Linked DNA regions of Homo sapiens: region 2 is linked to region 1. Evidence: promoter capture Hi-C in human tissues and cell types (Jung and others, 2019). All regions are on one chromosome and are shown on one strand. The core of a region is centred on a gene start or on the middle of the fragment in contact, and the rest is flanking DNA. Distances in the headings are between cores, read along the strand shown.

The links. Contacts are between HindIII fragments. The study calls those that stand out against the background at their distance.
Region 2: a contact is called between a fragment that was not itself captured here and the fragment with the promoter of C3orf20 in region 1, in 2 of the 25 tissues and cell types used here (lymphoblastoid cells and mesendoderm cells).

The regions. Positions count from the first base shown.
Region 1 is chr3:14,673,428-14,676,686 of GRCh38, forward strand. C3orf20 (chromosome 3 open reading frame 20) reads left to right here and starts at 1,714. Exons shown (of 17, transcript NM_032137.5): 1 at 1,714-1,825. RefSeq lists an enhancer at 226-275. The HindIII fragment of the contact is 10,656 bases long and covers 1-3,259 here.
Region 2 is chr3:14,742,795-14,746,053 of GRCh38, forward strand. All of the region lies in intron 12 of C3orf20 (chromosome 3 open reading frame 20), which reads left to right. Among named protein-coding and RNA genes, the nearest start is that of LINC02011, 67 kb to the right of the region's middle. The HindIII fragment of the contact is 8,404 bases long and covers 1-3,259 here.

The DNA of each region.
Region 1 (3,259 bases), core at 464-2,963:
GGAGCTTGCAGTAAGCCAAGATCGCGCCACTGCACTCTAGCCTGGGCAACAAGAGCAAGGCTGTGTCTCAAAAAAAAAAAAAAAAACAATGAATAGACAAAGAAAGATGGAAAGAGGATGTGTGTGTAACCCAGAGCAGAAGGACTTGAGGCTGACTGTGGAGTAGAAAGGAGAAGGGAGACAGAGACAAGGCAGGCAGCAGGAAGAGCTGTAGGTGTGGGAGCCAGCATCACAAAGGGTCCATCCCAGGTGACCACATCCATGCCTGCAGCACCCGGGTGGACGGCGAAGCAGTTATGCTCGTTGGCTCATGGTCACTGTTATCTGAAGATAACTGTGAGTCACATTTTCTCTGGGATTTCAAAAACTAAATAAACCTATTTATAATCCCCTCTTAACAGTATAATTTAGTTCAGTGTTTTGTGAGCCCTTTTCTGTTTCAGATCCAGTTCTTTGAGTATTGACACACCATCACAGTCTTACTGTGACACGGGCCTGTCTTGTACCAGTGTATCCAGCAGATGGCATTAGAATTCTTAAATGTCAGCTCCATACTCTTAAAACAGCACACTCCAACAGAAATAAAAAATAAATCTGTGGCGCATGCCTGTAATCCCAGCTACTTGGGAGGCTGAGGCAGGAGAATCGCTGGAGCCTGGGAGGTGGAGGTTGCCGTGAGCTGAGATTGCGCCATTGCACTTCAGCCTGGGCAACGAGTGAAACTCCGTCTCAAAATTAAAAAAAAAAAAATAAGCCCAGAGTGTCATTTTCAATTTTCTAGCAACCATATTTAAAAAGTGAAATTATAACATATTTTATTTAACTCAGCATATCCAAAATATTTCAATATGTACTCAATATATGCAAATTATTAGTGAGATCTAAAATTATTCTTCACACTAAGAATTCAAAACTCACTGTGTATCTGGTTATAGCATAATTTGGATGCTAACGTTTCATCAGGAATACTTGATCTGTATTTAGATTTTGTAAAATATGCAGTTGAAAAACACAAATTCATATCCAAGTTGTTCCAAAGATAGTTAAACATAGTAAAGTTTTTCAGTAACTGAATTGAACATCAAGTTTGAAAAAATAAAACCCAGTTCCTTAGTCATGCTAACCTTATTTCAGGTGCTCAAAGGGCCCATGCATCTAGTGCTGCTGTCCTGGACAGAGCGGCTCTAAGTGATCTGCTTTTACACGCTTTATGGTCCGACTATACATAATCCTCCCATTAGTAACTAAAGTATTGGCCAATAAATTTTTCCCAGGCATACATTAAACATTCACAATACTCTGTGGCCATGTTTAACTTGGGAGCAAGTAGTGGCAAAACCTCCTATACAAAAACGTGACCACACCTCATTCATGCCTTTGTAGAGCTAAGCAAAATGCTTTAGATCAAAAATTGCCTTGAATTATTTACGTTCATTGTAATCTCTCCTCTAGGCCTTTGTGTGTTTTGATAGAGTTCGTTTGAATTGGCTCAATAAATCATTTTATTTGCTGCAGAATTCCCAAAGAACATTCAGATCCATATACATGAGATTCCTGCTGCGTTTAGCCATACATTTGCCAGACTTGTGATGTCGTTTATTCCCTGTGAAAGCTCAAGTGCAGCCCACAGGGAGGTTTTCAGCTGACCTTGTTGTGACATGCAGATGAGGTAGTAGAGTTTAGAATTTGGAACGGGGATGGGTACTGGTCTTTACAGTTAACACAACCTGGAGTAGCCCATGCCATACTGTGTCCTTTTAAGTCAGTAAATTGAACTAAGTCGGTTATTCGGCAAGCAGTTCCTATAAAAAACTACATGGCTAAGGTGAGTGATGATCACTGAAAGGAATTCATTGACCCACTGAAAAAATGAGAGTAGATGAAACTACTGCAGTCATCCTGCCTGCCCCTGTTAGCTGGCTGAGTGAGGTGTTTTGCCCCGGTGGGCTGTGGACATTATCTTCATGTTTAAAGTGTGTGTACTGGGGGCGAGAGGCCAGGAATGATATGATGGGTGTAGGTCATTGTCTAGGAAAACTAGAAAATCCAAATGTTCAAAGGAAGTAAGGTGTTGTAGTGAAAAGCTGTCACCTGGCCTATCGATGTTCTGTTATGGTGTTTCTTAGTAAATCCCAGGCTGCATCTATATAGTCACTCATAGTAAGTGTGTGTTTGTCCAGTGGTAGGAGTGGCCAGAAATATTGCATCTGTTCCACCCTCAATTGAAACAGCTTCTTTCTCCACTGTATTTCTTTTGTTTTTGTTATTTATTTATTTATTTATTTATTTTTGGAGATGGAGTCCCGCTCTGCTGCCTAGGCTGGAGTGCAGTGGCTCACTGCAACCTCCACTCCCCGGGTTCAAGTGATTCTCCTGCCTCAGCCTCCCGAGTAGCTGGGATTACAGGCATGCACCACCACGTCCAGCTAATTTTTGTATTTTTAGTAGAAATGGGGTTTCACCCATGTTGGCCAGGCTGGTCTCGAGCTCCTGACCTCAGATGATCTATCTGCCTCATCCTCCCAAAGTGCTGGGATGACGGGTGTGAGCCACTGCACCCGGCCCTCCACTACATTTCTAATTGCCACATTCTCCCTAAGTCTGAAAGCTCACATGCTTAGTAACAGTTTGGCCAGGTTTTAAGCATTTTCTGTGGGGTGTACTGCATTCCTTCCCCCTCCCCCCCGCCTTTTTTTTTTTGGTCATTATTCCCTGCGGTTGAACAGAGCACCTCCCCGCACCCCACCCCACACCAGCCTCTCCATGCACAGCCATAGTTGTTCACGGTTTTTGAAAATCAAAAAATACAAGAGTGGACCTTGCTCCCAGCCCAGGTCTCCCAGGTTGCAAGTGAGTCTGGTAACTGTGCCACTGTCTTTGCTGGGAACCCAGGTTTTATTGCTTTTCCAAAAATAATCACCTTTTCCTTAAAAAGAAAAGGCTTTGTATCTCTGTGTCCAACTTATGATCTGCACAGGTTTCCATGGAATGTGTAATCAGTGTATACACACCATTTGGTTCTTCTTTCTTTAACATTTCTAAAACCGAGCTTCCTAGTTATTTTTAATTGTTGCCTAATAGTTCATCAGCTTAATGTACATCATTATTTCACTATAGGGAATGAAGTGGCTATAAGCATCTTTTAGTATGGTTTAACAAACATCGATCTTTATACAGATAACTTCCCTGACACTCCTCCCCCCCATTTTGAAACTGTCCCCTGGGGTGCCACTTTCATAAGCAGGAAAACTGGGTCAAA
Region 2 (3,259 bases), core at 427-2,926, 69 kb after region 1:
GGCAAGAGAAAACGAGGAAGAAGCAAAAGCAGAAACCCCTGATAAACCCATCAGATCTCATGAGATTTATTCACTATCAGGAGAATAGCATGGGAAAGACCAGCCCACGTGATTCAATTACCTCCCCACTGGGTCCCTCCCACAACACGTGGGAATTCTGAGAGATAAAATTCAAGTTGAGATTTCAGTGGAGACACAGCCAAACCATATAATTCCACCCGTGGCCCCCCTAAATCTCATGTCCTCACATTTCAAAATTAATCATGCCTTCCCAACAGTCCCCCAAAGTCTTAACTCATTTCAGCATTAACCCAAAAGTCCAGTCCAAAATGTCATCTGAGACAAGGCAAGTCCCTTCCGCCTGTGAGCCTTTAAAATTGAAAGCAAGCTAGCTACTTCCTAGATACAATGGGGGTACAGGTATTGGGTAAATACAGCCATTTCAAATGGGAGAAATTGGCCAAAACAAAGGGGTTACAGGGCCCGAGGAAGTCTGAAATCCAGCGGGCCAAATTTTAAAGCTTTGAAATGACCTCCTTTGACTCCAGGTCTCACATTCAGGTCAGGCTGATGCAAGAGGTAAGTTCCCAGGGTCTTGGGCAGCTCTGCCCCTGTGACTTTGCAGGGTACAGCCTCCCTCCTGGCTCCTTTCATGGGCTGACGTTGAGTGGCTTTTCCAGGTGCATGGAGCAAGCTGTCACTGGATCTACCATTCTGGGGTCTGGAGGACAATGGCCCTCTTCTCACAGCTCCACTAGGCAGTGCCCCAGTAGGGACTTTGCATGGGGGCTCTGACCCCACATTTCCCTTCTGCACTGCCCTAGCAGAGGTTCTTCATGAGGACCTCACCCCTGCAGCAAACTTTTGCCTGAGCATCCAGGCGTTTCCATACATCTGAAATCTAGGTGGAGGTTCCCAAACCTCAATTCTTCACTTCTGTGCACCCACACACTCAACTCCTTGTGGAAGCTGCCAAGGTTTGGGGCTTCCACCCTCTGAAGCCACAGCCCAAGCTATATGTTGGCCCCTTTCAGCCATGGCTGGAGCAGCTGGGACACAGGGCACCAAGCCCCTAAGCTGCACACAGCATGGGGACCCTGGGCCCAGCCCACGAAACCACTTTTTCCTCCTGGGCCTCCAGGCCTGATGGGAGGGGCTATCAGGAAGTTCTCTGATATGGCCTGGAGACATTTTTCCCATGGTCTTGGAAATTAACATTAGGCTCCTTGCTGCTTATGCAAATTTCTGCAGCCAACTTGAATTTCTCCCCAGAAAATGGGCTTTTCTTTTCTATCACATAGTCAGGCTGAAAATTTTCCAAACTTTATGCTCTGCTTCCCTTATAAAACTGAATGCCTTTAACAACACCCAGGTTACCTCTTGAATGCTTTGCTGCTTAGAAATTTCTTCCACCAGATACTCTAAATCATCTCTCTCAAGTTCAAAGTTCCACAAATCTCTAGGGCAGGGGCAAAATGCTACCAGTCTCTTTGCTAAAACATAACAAGAGTCACCTGTGATCCAGTTCCCAACAAGTTCCTCATCTCCATCTGAGACCACCTCAGCCTGAATTTTATTGTCCATATCGCTGTCAACATTTTGGGCAAAGCCATTCAACAAGTCTCTAGGAAGTTCCAAAATTTCCCACATTTTCCTGTCTTCTTCTGAGCCCTTCAAACTGTTCCAACCTTTGTCTGTTACCCAGTTCCAAAGTCACTTCCACATTTTCGGGTATCTTTTCAGCAATGCCCCACTCTACTGGTACCAATTTACTGTATTAGTTCGTTTTCACACTGCTGATAAAAACATACTCGAAACTGGGAATGAAAAAAGGTTAATTGGACTTACAGTTCCCCATGGCTGGGGAGGCCTTAGAATCATGGTGGGAGGTGAAAGACTCTTCTTACATGGCGACGACAAGAGAAAATGAGGAAGAAGCAAAAGCAGAAACCCCTGATACACCCATCAGATCTCATGAGATTTATTCACTGTCACGAGAATAGCATGGGAAAGACCAGCCCACGTGATTCAATTACCTCCCCACTGGGTCCCTCCCACAACATGTGGGAATTCTGGGAGATAAATGCAAGTTGAGATTTCAGTGGGGACACAGCCAAACCATATCATTGGTGTAATAATTCCTTCTTCCTGTGTACTCTCCATGTTCCTGTGAATAGCAAATACTGTTTCTTAGTTGTGAAAATGTGCTTTTTAAACAGTGAGTGCTGTGAAAATGTAGAGTCATGTGTTAATGTTTCCAGATATCCTCAGGGACATTAGTGGGAAGTAAGGAAGCAACTGACAAATCTGTTTGCCTGTTAGAGCAGGAAGGGGAGCAGTTGATGAAGCTAGGCTGAAGAGGTTAGATTTGATGTGCAGGACAAATTACTAGAACCCACAGAGAGAGAGAGAGCAGTGAGGGAGGACCTTCTGACAGAGCCATTGGCCTGCAGTTGAGAGGTGCATGACCCCACAGGGAGGGAACTAGGGAGGTGGCTCTCCAACCTTATGCTCCTCTTTCCCTCTGATCTCCTGCTGGTGCCCCTACTGGCAAAACCCAACTAGAGTTTCCTTATGCCTATGCAAGCAAGTGCAAATATGCCTTATTTCTTCCGCTTTGCTGGCTTAAAAAGCATTATATTAAAACAGTGTTCTGAACTTTACTTTTTCACAATATGTCATGAATAGCTGTCATTCTTTTTCTTCTTGCTATATAATACCCACTGTGTAGGTGTTCTGTGATTAGCCCAATCCTTTTTTCCTATTACAAGCAATGGAGGTAGTAACCATATACATTTGTGATATCACATTTGTACAACTATATCTGTAAATAAATTCCTAAAGATGAAATTATTAGACCAAGGGTCATGTGCATTTATAATTTTAAGAGATAGTGTCAAATTAATCACCATAAGATTATACCAATTTACATTCTCATCAGCAAAATATGTTACCTTAGTATAGTTTTAATTTGTATTTATATTATTAAAAGTGAAGTGGAGCTTCTTTACATAATTTTTATGAGTTACATACAACATATACATAATATAAAATTGACCATTTTAACCATTTAATGAAGTGTGCAGTTCAGCAGAATTTAATATACTCACAGCATCATACAACCATCACCACTATTTAATTCCAGAACTTTTTTAAATCACCCCAAAAGGAAACTTTGTACCCATTAAACAGTCACTTCCCATTCTCCCTTCCCTAGAAACTACTAATCTACTTTCTGTCTCTATGAATTTGCCCATTC